Linked DNA regions of Homo sapiens: all the other regions are linked to region 1. The links are contacts of gene promoters, found by promoter capture Hi-C in human tissues and cell types (Jung and others, 2019). All regions are on one chromosome and are shown on one strand. Each heading gives the region's core, a stretch centred on a gene start or on the middle of the fragment in contact. The rest is flanking DNA. Distances are from core to core; before and after follow the strand shown. Region 1 holds the start of CHST8 (carbohydrate sulfotransferase 8). Region 2 overlaps CHST8 (carbohydrate sulfotransferase 8). Region 3 overlaps CHST8 (carbohydrate sulfotransferase 8). Region 4 has its middle 38 kb from the start of CHST8.

Evidence for each region. Contacts are between HindIII fragments. The study calls those that stand out against the background at their distance.
Region 2: a fragment that was not itself captured here is called in contact with the fragment with the promoter of CHST8 in region 1 in 7 of the 25 tissues and cell types used here (H1 embryonic stem cells, dorsolateral prefrontal cortex, neural progenitor cells and 4 more).
Region 3: a fragment that was not itself captured here is called in contact with the fragment with the promoter of CHST8 in region 1 in 3 of the 25 tissues and cell types used here (H1 embryonic stem cells, dorsolateral prefrontal cortex and spleen).
Region 4: a fragment that was not itself captured here is called in contact with the fragment with the promoter of CHST8 in region 1 in 9 of the 25 tissues and cell types used here (H1 embryonic stem cells, bladder, dorsolateral prefrontal cortex and 6 more).

The regions. Positions count from the first base shown.
Region 1 is chr19:33,620,010-33,623,945 of GRCh38, reverse strand. CHST8 (carbohydrate sulfotransferase 8) reads right to left here and starts at 1,993. Exons shown (of 5, transcript NM_001127895.2): 1 at 1,650-1,993. RefSeq lists an enhancer at 2,288-3,032. The HindIII fragment of the contact is 24,734 bases long and covers 1-3,936 here.
Region 2 is chr19:33,683,063-33,686,998 of GRCh38, reverse strand. All of the region lies in intron 2 of CHST8 (carbohydrate sulfotransferase 8), which reads right to left. Among named protein-coding and RNA genes, the nearest start is that of CHST8, 63 kb to the right of the region's middle. The HindIII fragment of the contact is 7,407 bases long and covers 1-3,936 here.
Region 3 is chr19:33,662,386-33,666,321 of GRCh38, reverse strand. The region is part of intron 1 of CHST8 (carbohydrate sulfotransferase 8); the gene reads right to left. Among named protein-coding and RNA genes, the nearest start is that of CHST8, 42 kb to the right of the region's middle. The HindIII fragment of the contact is 6,325 bases long and covers 1-3,936 here.
Region 4 is chr19:33,581,586-33,585,521 of GRCh38, reverse strand. No RefSeq gene overlaps it. Among named protein-coding and RNA genes, the nearest start is that of CHST8, 38 kb to the left of the region's middle. RefSeq lists an enhancer at 1,956-2,457. The HindIII fragment of the contact is 3,433 bases long and covers 544-3,936 here.

The DNA.
Region 1 (3,936 bases), core at 744-3,243:
CCCTCAAGAGGTCCCTCTCTTCAGGGTTCCAATGTTATTCCTCCCGTGGGTCACTTCACAGAGGCCAGTCTGCTGAACGCTCCTGAATGAACTCCCACGCCGCCTTCTGTGCTTGGGGTGTCCTGATTAAAATTAAAAGAGGATCTCCTGCTGGGATGAGTGTCCTTCCTGTGGCCTGTCTGCCTTGCCTTTGGGACAGGGCACAGGGTGGGCAGGAAAGGTCATGACAGCTGGAAAATGTTAAGGGCTCTGCCACACCTGCTCCACGGGTGCCCTGTCCTAGGGCAGGACTTAGGGAAAGACTTCCCCACAGGTAGGCAAGGGTCAAGGTGAACTCAGAAGAGAAAGGTTACCCAGGAAAGTGGGCTTGGTATTGTAGCTCCTGGGGGCCTTGGGCGGCGGTGGGAAATAAAAGGGGGTTGATCTGCCTCTTACCCCTCTGTCCCCCGCCCCTCTCCACCATCCACTCCAAAGCAGCTACTACCTCCCTGCACCCAACGCCTCTCCCACGTGCTCTGCTGCTGCGCCAGATCGCGCCAAGCAGATGGAGAGGGGCCGGGACGCGCGTTCCCCTTAACGGAGCTGATCACGGCTCCTGAGCCAGCGGGAGTGGCCCAGGGACGCAGAGTCCTCTGGGACGCCGGAGACGACTGCAGGACAGAGAGCCCCAGGATCGGCGCCTACTTCTGGGTTAAAACAGACAGCCGGGCAGCAGCGCCCACAGCCGAGGGCGCCGCAGCCGCTTCAACTCCGGGTCGGGGTCGCGGGCCTGGAGACAAGATGTACGCGAAAGTTAGGGCGGCGGGAGTCCCGCACTGGAGAAGGAATCGGGGTCACATCAGACCCAAGCCCCAGCATCGGGCACTGCCAAAACCCGTGATCGCCCTCCTGGCCCGGCTGGCCTCCAGCGAGGCCAGAGCGGGTCTGCAGAGTCGGTAGCCGGAGTTGCAGCCGCCGTCAGAGCTCGGCTCGGTCCCGCGGCCAAACGGATCATTTCCCCGCCCCCTGGAGCCGCCCCAGGCTCCGACTCCCGCACTCCCGACACACGCACGCACACACCTTCACACCATCGCTGACGCACGCACACTCGCCTCCAGCACTCACAGGCCGGTGCCCTGGAGAGTTGCGGGTCGGGGACGCGCGCGACGGAGCCGCTGGGTAGGAAGCCAAGGCCACTTAAACTTCCCCCATAGTCTCTGCCCGCCGCAACCCGTCCGGAGCCCCGGCTCCGAGCGCGCCAGGAAGCCCCAGCGCCCCGAGCGCTCCTGCCTGGCCCTCGGCGCTCGCTGCTCAGCGCCCGACGCCGCCTCCCCGCGGGCAGCACCGAGGGCCAGGAGGCGGAGCGGGAGTCCGCAGGGACCAAGAGGGCCCGAGGGACGGCAGTTCCCAGAAGCGCGGCAGCGAGTGAGATCCAAGGAGAGAAAGTCTAATTAAAGTTCCCGCTACCGGGGCCGGTCCCCAAAGTGCAACCAGACCCGAGCCCCGCGCGCCCACCTCCGCCCGCAGCTTCGGACTCCCATTCGCGTGCGGTGGCGGGGATGGCGAGCGGTGCAGTCCGGGGCCCGCTCGGGACCCCTTCCTGGCGTCTCTGCAGGCCAGGAGCCTGCGCAGGGCGGGAACAGGGGTGGGGCAGGGGCGCAGCCACTTACCTGGCGCAGCGGACGCACCCGAGGCCGCGGGCGCCTCCAGTCCGGGAGCGGTTCTCCGCGGCGGATCCTCTGCTTGGGGCGCGCAGGCGGCGGAGAGGACCTCCGACCCAGCTCGGGCCCGGTGCCTCCGCCCGCTCCAAGCGGAACCCAGTGCGATCTGTGGGCGAGCAGCGTGGGGCCGGCAGCCGGAGCGTGCGGGGAGCGAGAGGGCGCGGGGCGGCGTTCCTCTTCGGCCCCCGGCGCGATCGGTCCCCCACCTCCTGCTGCCGCCGCCGCCTCGTCCTCTCTCCTCCCCGCAGCACTGCCGGATCCGGCTTGCGCGCCGGGAAGGCTCCCAGCGAAGTGAGAGCGAAGCCTCCGGCGAGGCTGGAAATAGCGCCGCGCCCGCCCGGCGCCCCGCCCCCGGCCCGTGCCCCGCCCCGCCGTGGTGGCGGCTACGGCGGTGGCCGGGCCGGGCGGGGATCGCTCCAGCGATGCACTCGGCCCTCCCGGGGGCTCGCGGGCGCCGCGCCCACGCGCGCTCTGCGGCTCCCGCGGCCCCTCTGGCAGCGCTCTCAGAAAGAGTCGCTGCTGGGCGCGGTCCGGCGGCCGCGGGGGTGGGAGCGGTCGTGGCTGGGGCTGCGCCGGTCTCCCGGTTCAGGAGAGCCGGACTCCGGCCTGACGCTAGGCTCCAGACCGCGGCCAGTGCTGCCACTGCCTCGGTGGGTCGCACGCGGCGCCAACCCGGGAAAAGGACCAGGCGTCACCGGGGCGGGCCTTGACCACAGCGGGGCAGGGGCGCGCGCCCAGGACCCGATGCTGCGGGGGCGCAGGGCCGGTGAAAGGCGGAAGATTGATCCTGAGGAAGATTCTGGGATATCCCTGGGCTTCAGCTCGCGTGGAATTCGGTCAAGGCCGCGAGCTGCCTCAGGCCCGGGTGTCCGCATCCATCCTCAAATCCCTGGGGCTCTAGATTCTGCTGAAAGTGCCCTGCGAACAGGTGCTCCCTTCAGGACTTCATCCTGGAAGTTTGTGTCGGGTCACCAGCCTGAGAGCGGGGCCAACCGACCCTCTTCATACACACTCGGGAAAACAGCGTGGAGGGTGGAACCGGCCCACGGCCACACAGCACCGGGACAGAGTAGGGACAGGAACACGGGGCCCTGGATTCGGGTCCTTGTTCTTCCTAAGAAGAGGCAGCCCCAGCCTGCAGGGGACAAGCAGGCCTTGGGAAGGGGGGCAACTGCTTTCTCACAGGAGCTGGAGGAAACTGTGCACACAGTCACCTGTTAGTCTTGAAGGGACACTCAGTATTTTCAAACAACAGCAGAGAAGCCTTTAATAAAGTGAAAGACCCTTACTCTCTCCTCTCTAATGGTACCTGCTGGCTGGTTGGCCTGACTCCTACCAGCTGACCTAGAGTGAGTGATGGAATTGGGGAGTGAGCTGGGCCCATGGGTCTTGACTGACCAGAGTGGGGGACACCAGGCGGAGAGCAGAGCCACTCCTGGGGACGGCCAGGGAGCCCCTCAGCCCCAGGGCCATGAGGCCTCCTTAATGCCCCAGGTAAGCTCAGAGCATCCAAAAATAGACCAGGACAGATAAGAAGATAAATAGAAGCATGACAAAGAGATCATGGTCTTCCTTTAATTCTTGCAGCAACAGAGTAGACATTATCACTCCCGTATTACAGATGAGCGAATTGAGATGCAAAAATGCCACCATTTTGCTGGACTCCACGCATCTGGAGAATGGCCCAGGTGTGATGATTCCAAACTGGGATAGGCTTTGTTCTGGGGTTCCCTTTCCAGGACTTTAGGCTCGGAGTGACCCAGGCCTGGGGCTGCGCTGGGACCCAGGCACACTCCACTGGCTGCACGCATGAGGGGAATGTGTGTGTGTGTGTGTGTGTGTGTGTGTGTCTGAAATCACCCTCCTCCGCCTCAGTCAGGTGCAGATTGGAGGAGCTGAGTGCAAGGGCCAGGGACTCAAGTGTCAGGAAAAACAGGGCAGTGGAACCCTTATTCATCCTACATCCCAAAGCTGTTGGAGCAGAGCAGGAGAGAAGGTAGGAACAAAGAGAGGGGAGAGTGGAGTGAGCAAAAAGTCACTTGCCGGACTAGCTCACAGTGCAATGACCCCATCCCTGTCCCTGTGGTCCCCTTACCCCACACTTGCAGCCCCTCTTGCCACCCAAGGTCCTGACCATAGCTTGGCTGGGCAGCTGCCCATGAGCTCCCTGTCTGCAGTTAGGCCTGGAACAGAGCACACAACTTTTGCCACAGAGGCCTGATGGTCAAGAGAATCT
Region 2 (3,936 bases), core at 500-2,999, 63 kb before region 1:
GCCATGGCTCTCAGATGGGGACCAGGAAGAACCTGCAAGGTCTCTCGGGAGCAGCTGCTATTGCACGGTCATGGGGACGGTGTTCACATGTGCACCGCACCCACGGACCTAAGCAGACGCGGGTTCAATAACACACATATGCATACATGCCCGGGTGCATGCCGGCCAGTGCCTGCACACATACCATCGATGGTCCCCAGCAAGGCCCCAGCTGGAAAGCAACTGTCGCGAGCCCCTGAGTAAGCTGGCCACGGTGTGGGTGCGCTTCCTGCAGCCTCCTGAGTCAGACACCGGGAAGCCAGTTTGACCTAGGGTAGCCTCCAACATCAAGACATTTTGGAAGGAGGGAGAGAGGAAGGAGAACAGCTTCATGGCTAGCGCCCAGAACTGCCTGGTAAAACAGCTAATAATGGGTCCCTCAATATCAGGCTCTACCTGATGAACAAAGGGGACTCGGGAGCATGTGTGATCATCATCTCATTTGTTCAGTAGCTGGCGCTGCAGAGTGGTTACAAGAGAGCTGGCCGGTCCTCTCTTCTCCCCAGTCTGTCTCCATTCGAGCCAGTACCGACATCCACTGTCAAGGACTAAATGGGTCTGCAGCGAAGACCTGTCCTCACTTGTTTCTGAACCGCCCCAAACCAAACCCACCCCATGATGCCTGGCTCCAGCCACCCATGTGCCTGGGAGCCAGGGCAAGGACCAGATCCATGCCCCCAAATCCAGGAAGGGGAAGAAGACACAGACCCAGGACCACACCTCCATGGTGGTGGAGCTTCATCTGTTCACGTTTCCCCTTTCAAAGACCCTGCCTTTGCTGGCCCCCGAGAGAACACGAACACCCTCTCTCTATACCCAGGGAAGCTGGCATTGGAGCCGTCTGTGGCTTCAGGGTTTAGCCCCTAAGCCTCAGACCCCAGCTTTTCCCTCTGGGACCCTCAGCTCTGTGTTTGTTCTCACTGGGGACCATCTGACCAGCTAACTCCCTGCTCCGTGCAAACAGGAATCAAAAGGTCAGCGTGCCTCCCCTCCTGGGTAACTGGCCAGCAGTATGGCTGGCCAACTGGACTCTATAGAACACTCCTTTCCCCTAAGGTGTGGGAAGGGAGGGTGGTCACCGACAGATCCCCGGGCATTCCAGGGGGTGTAGAATCCTCTATTGTTCCTCGGAGGACCCCAGGCTTCCAAGTCGCACGTTGTTTTCAAGGCAACAGGAGCTGCTGGTCTAAGAGCTGTCTGTCTCCCTCTCCTGGGAGTCCAGCTGCTGCCTGGGGAGTGGACACCACCATCTGTCACAGGCTGGGGCCTGGAAGGCTGGGGGATGAGGCATAAACACAGTCACAGGCCTCAGCCTCCACCTGGGACTGTCCCATCCTCATCACAGACTATATCACTCTCAGCTCCGATGACAAGGGCAAAACCTGCCTTCACCTGCTTACACCCATCCCAAGACCAACAGACAATAAGAAAATCCAGCCTTCCAGGGGCAGAGAAGAGGGAGGGTTCAGGCAAGAAAAATAAACAGCCCCAGCGAGTTTCCAGCAGCTCCTGCCTGGCCTCACAATTCCTAGTCCTCCTGGTGGCTTTTCTCCCCCAGGCCTGAATGGCGTCACCAATTTTTACTTTAAGAAAAAAAAAAAAAAAGATCCAATTAATCTTATAAACCCCTCCTGGGACACAGGGCAGGGCGAAGGATTCCTCCCATTTCCTTATTTATTTGATTTAAAAATGTGTCTCTTTGAAGAAATTCACTTCAGGGCACAAGCAAGGACTTGGGAATTCAGCCAAAACACACGCACCTCCAGTGGCGACCGGCAGCAGGCGGACAGACGCATGGACGGCTCCAAGGACACGCTTGGCTGCAGCTGCTTCTGGGCCTGGACGCTCCCCTCAGCTGCCCAGAGGATTCCCTGTGGCCGTGGGGACCTGTCCCTGTGCCTGGCTCCAGGCAGCATGGGTGCACCCACGTGGTCAGCGGACCCCGGGCTCGGGAAAGTTCTCTGTCCGGTGGGTCTCCTTGCACCACACGGGCAGGAGAGAACAATGACGTCCCTCCCGGCTGAGGGCTCCCGGAGAAGCTGCTTGTTGGGAGAGAGGCTGCTATGGCAACTTGAGGAGAATGGAGCCAGGCACTGCCGTCACCTTGAATCCGGCACCGTGCCTTCTGCCGCGGTGGCAGCAGCGGGGACTCTGCACCGGGCGCTGGTCTCTGAGCCCTGGCTTCCCTCCTCAGCCTCCTGGCCTCGGGAACTCATCTGCTCGTCGCCGATCGATCGGTGGGAGCCTACAGCCCAGTCCCCCGAGAGCACCACCTCCTTCTGTTTTGTCAGACTAGTTCTTCCCTGCGCGCGGCTCTCGCTTACTTCTGAGATGGGGCTCTTCTTGATTTCAGCTCATTAAAAATCCTGCAGCTAATTAAAACCGCTCTAATGGCAGCGGCGGCGGCGGCAGCAAACTCTGGGACGAGTCCCTCCAGTTTTTATGCGTAGGCATAAAGTTGCAATGCTCTGCAAGGTTGACGGATGGGCGCGAGTGCTCAGACTCCAAGGCGGGGCTGCCGACTCTCAGGCTGCCTCCTGCCCTGCTGCTGGGGAGCGCTGGCCTGGGTCCTGAAATCCCCAGAGCCGGGCCTTGGCACACCCAGGCCCCTGCCGGGCGGCACGCTACTCCCGGGGAAGGCAATTTACCTGCTGTCCGCTGCCCTGTTACAAGGCAGGGTTCTCTCCACTCCCCCCCAGCCCCATGCTCTGCAGCGGGGAGAAAGGGCGTTCCGAGGTGGAGATTACCGGGTGAATCAGGCTCACAAGGTCCTAAAGCTTGCCACCATAGCCCTACTAGGAGCACCACAGCCCGGCCTCCCACCATCACGGACACATTCCAGTTGGAGTCTGAGGGGCGCCTGCAAACACACAGCCACAGCGAGGGGGGCCTGAGAGCGTGGCCAAAGACTGACAGGCCACGTCAACTGACCACACCCTGGACACTATCTCTGCCCAGGGCTTCTTACATGTTGAGGACATTTTATGCCAGTGGGGCAGGGCAGGGGACAGTCATTCTGCATGTAAAGAAACTGAGTCCCCTGCTCCTCCTCATCCTGGCAGAGTCTAGAATGCTGACTCAGTGCCCCGAATTCCCTGAATGTGTGAACCTTGGTTCCCTGAGAGCACCATCGCGGTGACAGCCCTTCCCTCACTGTGGGAAAAGCATTTGCCACCTGCCTCTGAATCGGGAATCGCATCGAGGCCTCTCCCCATCTTTGTATTCCCAGCACCTAGCACAGTCCCCGGCACAGGGAAGGTGATCAATAGCCTCTGCTGCACGTTGAATGAGCACGAGTTAATAGATGGAAGTGTTTGGGGCCATCTGGAGAGAGGCACTCCATGAACCTGGAATTTTAAAAAGGTCATCTATGTTTCAGGGAGCTGAGGGTTTGTTTTCCTCAGAGCTGCCTTGGAATCAGGTCCAAAGAGTAGCCCAATCCTATGACAGGAGGCAAGGAAGAAGCAAGGAAGAAACGGCCCCCAGGGAGCCCAGTGGAGCCTTAAAGCTTGAAATACCCGAGGCCCGCTCGCCACCAGGACCTCACTTTTGCCTCCTCATGTCAGTATGACAGATTTCAGATCACAGAGCTTGAAGACAAATACACTTTTAAAGACAAATGTTGATTCTCCCTCTACATATACATACACATTAACAGGTGCAATGTTTACACAAAAGACACACACCATTGAGATGCCACAAAATTGACTGATTGTCCCCTGACATGGTTTGGATATGTGTCCCCTCCAAATCTCATGGTGAAATGTGATTTCCAGTGTTGGAGGTGGGGTCTGGTTGGAGGGGACTGAATCACAGGGTGGATCCCTCATGAATGGCATGGTGCCATCCCCTTGGTGATGAGTTGGTTCTCATTCAGTTCATGTGAAATCTGACTGT
Region 3 (3,936 bases), core at 467-2,966, 43 kb before region 1:
ATCTATTTGCAGGGTCCACACACACACACACATGCTCACACTCAGCCTGGAGGGCTTCCACGGGCATGGAGGGGAGAAGAAAGCCCATCTTCCCTATGTGTACCCCCTGACTTTCACAGTCCTGTGGGGCATGAAGGGCTCAGTTCCAGATAAGACTGCTCCATCTCCAGCCACGTGACTAATTAGCGTGGCCTACATCGACAGGCACTAATGGGCCTTTCCTGTTGTGCAGCCAACGTTGCTTCTTTCTCAGGCCCCAAGGCACCTGCACAGACATGATCCACGAGAAAGCTGTGTGGGGCACAGCCGTTTCCGACACCCCGTCCCGGAGCCAGAGGCCTGCCTTTCGGCCTCCAGCTGCAGAGACACCACTTGTCCCCTCCCAAACCTGAGGATGTCATTTTGTCATTTGTCCACCCCAGTCTGACCTTGTCTGCTGCCTGCCCAGAGCTGGGTGGGCCACTGGGGCCCTGATCACTTTCCCGGATGCCCACTGAGTGTGAACCATGTGCAAACTCAGGCTTGAGGAAGGCCTGCCCATCCCCTCCACCCTCTACCCATCAGGAGTCACAGAGGAAGTGTTCCTTGGGGGACACTGCTCCTGGGTTCTGCGGCCCCAGCCTCACCCTGGTCCAGCAGGAAGAGGCTACAGGATTGCACTTGAGAAAAGCTTTTTTTTTTTTTCAGTTTTGAAGATACTCAAACAATCCTTTCGACATGCTAGTTCTGATTAAATGTCCAACACATTTCCATTTGCCATCTTCCTCCATTTCCATACCCATCTGTGTCTTGCAATCCATTAAACCAGTGTTCGGCAAACTGTGGCCCATGGACCACACCCTCCAGCCACCTGTTCCTGGAAATAAAGTTTTATTGGAACACAGCCACGCCTGTTCTGTATCATCTGTGGGTGCCTTCACATTATGATGGCAATTGAGTGACTTCCACAGTGACCTTTTTGTCCATGAAGCCTAGAATATTTACTCCATGGTCGTTTACGAAAAAGTCTGCTGACCTCTGGCCTAAACTACAAATATAATTCACTTATAAATAGTCTGTCTGGCATAACAGATGCTAGTAAGGATATGGAGAAAGGGGAACTCTTGTACACTGTTGGTGGGGATGTAAATTAGTACAGCCACTATGAAGAACAGTATGGAGATTCCACAAAAAAACTAAAAATAGAACTACCATATGATCCACTCCTGGGTATATATCCAAAAGAAAGGAAACCAGCGTATTACAAAGATATCTACACTCCCACGTTTATTGCGGCACTAGTCACAATAGTCAAGATGTGAAATCAACCTAAGTGCCCATCAGTGGATAAATGGATAAAGAAAATACGGTACATACACACAATGGAATAGTATTTAGCCATTAAAAAGAATGAAATCTTGTTATTTGCAGCAACATGGATGGAACTGGAGACCATTATGTCCAGTGAAATAAGCCAAGCATAGAAAGATAAATATCATTATGTTCTCACTCATACGTGGGAACCAGAAAATTGGATCTCATGAAGACAGAGACAAGATTGGCAGTAACCAGAGGCTGGGAAGGGGATGGGGCAAGATAAAGGGGGGAAAAAAGCAAATATATTCCCAACCAATTTTAGAAAACAATTTGAGATATTTAAGCACATGCATAAAAATGGCAGTATAATTTTTTTTAAATCATCTGTCAAATAACCTTTTGAGATGTCCAGTGAACTTTTTTGGGTAAGCCACTTAACATAATCACTCAAAGAAATAAAAATGAAAATCCCAAAAAACCAAACACCGCATGTTCTCACTCACAGGTGGGAATTGAACAATGAGAACACATGGACACAGGAAGGGGAACATCACACTCTGGGGCCTGTTGTGGGGAGGGGGGAGGGGGGAGGGGGGAGGGATAGCACTGGGAGATATACCTAATGCTAGATGACGAGTTAGTGGGTGCAGCGCATCAGCATGGCACGTGTATACATATGTAACTAACCTGCACATTGTGCACATGTACTCTAAAACTTAAAGTATAATAATAATAAATAAATAAATAAATAAAAAAGAAAATCCCAGAAGCTCAGGGTAAACCATATAGATTCCCAGTTCTAAATCCATATATCTCTTTAAATTACACAAGTACACAGGAATGCATTCTCACAGGAAAAAACTTCAAACAATACAGTGGAAGTGAAGATTCCTTTGAAAGTCGCCCCAATCCAGTCCACTCCGAACTGCGATCATTGGCATAATTCCTTTCAGACTTTTAGATATGAACTTACAAATATGTAAATAGAGGACATACAGTGTGGCTTTGTGTGTGTTTTTGCCATAAATGGTGTATATATGTACATATTGTGCTACGGTTTGCTTTTTTTCACTTAACAACACTGTTCAGACATCTTTCCCAGCAGTGCATATGGACCTACCTCATGCTTTTTATTTTATGTATTTATTTATTTTTTGAGATGGAGTCTTACTCTCTCACCCAGGCTGGAGTGCGGTGGCAGGATCTCGGCTCACTGCAAACTCCACCTCCCGAGTTCAAGCGATTCTCCTACCTCAGCCTCCCAAGTAGCTGGGATTACAGGCACCTGCCACCATGTCCTGCTAATTTTTGTATTTTTATAGTGACAGAGTTTCACCATGTTGGCCAGGATGGTCTCGAACTCCTGGCCTCAAGTGATCCGCCTGCCTCTGCCTCCCAAAGTGCTAGGATTACAGGCGTGAGCCACTGCACCTGGCCCCTCCTGCTTTTTAAACCTTTTTGGGGGACAGGGTCTCACTAGGTCCCCCAGGCCGGAGGCAGTGGTGCCATCACAGCTCACTGCAGCCTTGACTTCCTGGGCTCAGGTGATTCTCCCGCCTTGGCCCACTGAGTAGCTGGGACCACAGGCACGAGTCACCAGGCCCAGATAATTTTTAAGTTTTTTGTAGAGACAGGGTCTTGCTATGTTGCCCGGGCTCATTTCGAATTCCTGGGCTCAAGCAATCCTCCTGCCTCGGCCTACCAAAGTGCTGGGATTATAGGTGTGGGCCACCTGATGCTTTTTAACTAACTGTCCAGAATATTTCAAAGTGTGGGTGTTGCAAAGTCCAATCTCCATGCACACAAACATCTGAAGCATCCATAACCAGCTGTTCTTCCCAGGAAGAAGGATCCTTTGTCCAGGGGTCACTTCAGAAAGTGACTTTTCAGTGGATGGACGGCAGGCTCCGGCCACGCATCCTGTCCATTTGAAGATACCTCCACCCAGGCATATTGGAGAGTTCCTCGGTCTTCCTCTACAACACAGACACCATCACGGGGTCTTTGTGTGACCCTGAGCCTTTCCTGGCAGAGTCCCTAAGATCCATGACTCTACACGCCCCATGCAAAGCAGTCTTTGAAAGGAGAATCACTGTGAATATAAATGACTGTCTCAGAAGCTTGACTTTTAAAAAAGGAATGTGGATCTGGCCCTTGCAAATATAAAACAGATTGAGAAGCTGAGTTTTGTGGAGTGACTTAAACAGGCATTCTGAGTTGGCACCCACTGGGAGCAGTGCAGCAAAGGTTGGCGTTCGGGAACAGGCAGAACCCAGAGCTGGGCTCAGGAACAATCCTCTCCACCACCTTTTCCTCTCCTCTTCTTCCCCTCCTCCCTTCACCACCTCCTTCCTCCTGCCCCTCCACCTTTACCTCATCCGTTTGTTCCAGGAACCCTCACTGAGCACTCACCATGCGCTGGTCAATGCGTAACGCTGGGACTCCAGGCACCCCCTCACAGCATTCCCCGTGGGGCAAAGACAGTCCCTGAGCCAGGGACCACAGCATTGCCCTGGTCTGTGCCATGGAAGGCCCCCATGCCAGGACAATCAAGGTGAGACCTAGAGTGGAAAGGCAGTAGGTAGGGGAGGGCACTTCCAGGCAAGGATGTAGCTGGGTGTGGAGTGATGTACGAAATTG
Region 4 (3,936 bases), core at 1,011-3,510, 39 kb after region 1:
GTTTTGTTTTGAGACAGGGTCTCACTCTGTCACCCAGGCTGGAGTGAGTGCAGTGGCATGATCATGGCTCACTGCAGCCTCGAGTTCCCAGGCTTAATCAACCCTCCTGTCTCAGTCTCCCTAGTAGCTGGGACTACAGACATGTACAACTTTAATTTTTTTTTTTTTTTTTTTTTGAGACAGAGTCTCACTATGTCGCCCAGGCTGGAGTGCAGTGGCGTGATCTCGGCTCACTGCAAGCTTCACCTGCCAGGTTCACGCCATTCTCCTGCCTCAGCCTCCCGAGTAGCTGGGACTACATGTGCCTGCCACCACGCCTGGCTAAGTTTTTTTGTATTTTTAGTAGAGACAGGGTTTCACCATGTTCTCCAGGATAGTCTCAATCTCCTGATCTTGAGATCCGCCCACCTCGGCCTCCCAAAGTGCTGGGATTACAGGCGTGAGCCACCGTGCCCGGTCAACCTTAATTTTTTTAATTTTTAATTTTTTAGAGATGGGAGTCTCACTAGGTTGCCCAGGCTGGTCTTGAACTCCTGGGTTCAAGCAATATTCCCCCTTGGTAAAGTGCTGGGGTTACAGGCATGAGTCACCGCGCTCAGCCTCCTTTTATGTATTTAATAAATAAATAAATAAGAGCTTATTATACACACTATCCTGCACTTTGTTTTTCCTTTTACTTAATAATATCTTGGAGATCATTTCATGTTCTAATTCATTTTTAATTTAAAAACTACATAAATAAATAAATGGTGCTGTGATCATTAGTTAACTGTTTTATGAAAAATATTAAATTGGTTTCCTTCTCAACACCATGCACCAAAATAAATTCCAATAGTGGATTAAAGCTTTAATCATAACAAATGAAGCTCTCAAAAATAATGGAAGGAAATGCGGATGAGTGATTCTCACATGGCGGATCCTTGGGTGGGAGAAAGTCCTTCCCGGCCTGAAATAAACATGCAAACTACAAGATGCAAGCCCCCCAGGCTTGAATGTGTGTATATATGTTGGCGCTGTCTGGACTCCATTTTTTTCTCTTGTTGAGAGAAGTGTCTTGGGTGGGGTTCCCTAGAGAAGCCTGAGATCGACATTCATGGGCAAATGAGTTATAAAGCAGGGGTTCTTAAGCCCCAGGCCATGGACTAGTACTGGTTCATGGCCTCAGCAGGAGGTGAGTGGCAGGTGAGTGAACATTATTGCCTGAGCTCTGCCTCCTGTCAAATCAGCGGTGGCATTAGATTCTCATAGGAGTGTGAACTCTTTTGTGAACTGTGCATGTGAGGGATCTAGGCTGCATGCTTCTTATAAGAATCTAACTAATGCCTGAGGATCTAAGGTGAAACAGACTTATCCCCAATCCATCCCTGATCTCCCCTCCCCCACCATCCACGGAAAAATTGTCTTCCATGAAACTAGTCCCTGATGCTAGAAAGGTAGGGGGGATCAGGCCAGGGAAGAGTAAGAAGTCAATCAAGATTGGGATCTCAGGCAAAGTCCGGCTGTCCTCACCTTGAGGCAATGGAGCTGGGCTTTCCTACTCCTGCACCTGTCAGTCATTGACTAAGCACTGCCCAGGCTCTCATCAGCTTCCAGGAACTTAAGACTCTCTGCACCTGTGGGCAGGGCAGCTCCCTAACCCTGGGTGATCTTCTGAGGAGTGGCAGGTACAGATGGTGGAATCCAGGGCAGAGGTGCCCAGTATGGAACAGGGCATCGAAGAGGAGCCACAGTGTCTATTACAAAGGGAGTCTGCTGCCCAAGGGCTGAGCTAGGGAAGGCCTATGGGGCCAGACCCATGAGACGGCCAGACCTGTGAAAGTCAGGACTCTGAGTTTGCAGTGAAAATTCCAAGAGGATGCAAGCCCGTGCCCCCTGTGCTCACAGCCACCTGGCCCCAGAGCCCAAAGGCATCTTAGGCTGAGTTCTCTGGAAGCAGCTGAGGTGGAGAGTTTGGGGCAGGAGGTTTACACTGATGGCTCTCAGGAGAGACCCCCTATAGGGAAGCGGGGAGGGCGAGGGTGGGCAGAGAGGGAAGGCGACCCCCCAGTGCAGTTACAGCTAGGCCTCAGCCAGGCCTGGGGGAGCCCTGGAGCTGGACACGCCTTCAGAGTTGCCCCAAACTGAGGTGAGGGGCAGGGCTTTGTACTCCCACATCAGCCAGTCGCTGGATACAGGATCACCCCACAGGAGGCATAAACTTAGGAAAGGTGCTTCCCGGGTGCCAAGGGAATTCCCAGGGAAGAAGGCAGGGATATTCCCAGCTCCCATGGGGATAATGGCCATGATGGTTAATTTTAGGCATCAACTTGTCTGGATTAAGGGACACCTAGACGGCTGGGAGAGCATTATTTCTGGTTGTGTCTGAGAGGGTGTTTCCAGAGGAGACTGGTATGTGAGTCAATGGACTGAGTTGGGAAGATCCGCCCTCAATGTGGGTGGGTACCACCAATTGGCTGGGGGCCTGGATAGCACGAAAAGGCAGAGGAAAGGTGAATTCACTCTCTTTCCTGGAGCAGACACATCCCTACTGTCCTGCCCTGAGACATCAGAACTCCAGGTTCTCCAGGCTTTGAACTGTAGGACTTGCACCAGTGGCCCCCAGCCCAGGTTCTCAGACCTTCAGCCTCGGACTGAGAGTTATACCACCAGCTTTCCTGGTTCTGAGGCTTTCAGACTTGGAGTGAGTCACACTCCCAACATACCCGGGTCTCCAGCTGGCAGGTGGCTGAGGATGGGAAACCTCAGCCTCCATAACCACGAGACAATTCCCCTAAAAAATCTCATGTAGATAATAGATACATACGTACATACATACAGATCTTTTGTAGAGATGGGGGTCTCACTGTGTTGCCCAGGCTGGTCTTGAACCTGGGCTCAAACGATTCTCCCACTTTGGCCTTCCAAAGTGCTGGGATTATAAGTGTGAGCCACTGTGCCTGACTTCTGTTATCTCTCTCTCTCTCTCATGTGTGTTTATCTATCTATCTATCTATCTATCTATCTATCTATCTATCTATCTATCATCTATCTATCATCATCTATCTATCTGTTGGCTCTGTCTCCTTGGAGAACCCCGACCAGCATAGTGGCATCAGCCCCTGGAGAGGAGATCTGGGTGGAGCAACACAGTGTCCACTATTGGGGAATTGAGAAGTCCCTTCTTGGGGCTCCTGGCTGCAGTGACTCTCCAAATAGAGGGGCTGATGGGAGGCCCAGGGAGCCACAGGTCCAAGGCCATCAGGATGGGTCCACCTCCAAAGAGGACATAACCTCTTCTGGAGCCCTGGGGTGAGGGGATTGGTGGGCTTTGGGGGATCTGGCAGAACTGCCTATGGGAGAGACAGCAGAGAAGACTGTCTTAGTCCATTTTGTGTTGCTGTAACAGAATACCACAGACTGGGTAATTTATAATGAACAGGAATTTATTGGTTCGTGGTTCTGAAGGCTGGGAAGTTCAAGATCAACAAGGTCAGCATCTCATAAGAGCCTTCTTGCTGCTTCACAATATGGCTAAAGGGCAAAGAGAGGGTGAGAGGGGGAGACAGTGAGAGTAAGAGAGGGCCAGATTCCCCCTGTGTGACAAACCCACTTCTTCGATAACAGTGTTAGTCCTTTGACTCTGCCATCATGGCCTTATCACCTCTCTTTGGGCCTCACCTCTCAACACTTAGATTGAGGATCAAGTTTCCAACATTTTGCTTTTTGGGAGACACATTCAGGTCATTGCAGATATGTTCAGAAACCTGGCAAGGGGAGCATTAAAGGTTGAAGGTGAGGCCCTGGCTGGGGGGCACTCCAGCCTGGGGCCTGTCTCCCCACAGTTCTGCTGTAGGAGGAGATGTGGTTTGACAAGGTAGTCAGCAGGCCTGAATGAGGCGGACTTTGGTGGATCATCTGTACCTCTGTGGATTGAGCAGGCTATGGGTGGCGGGGAGT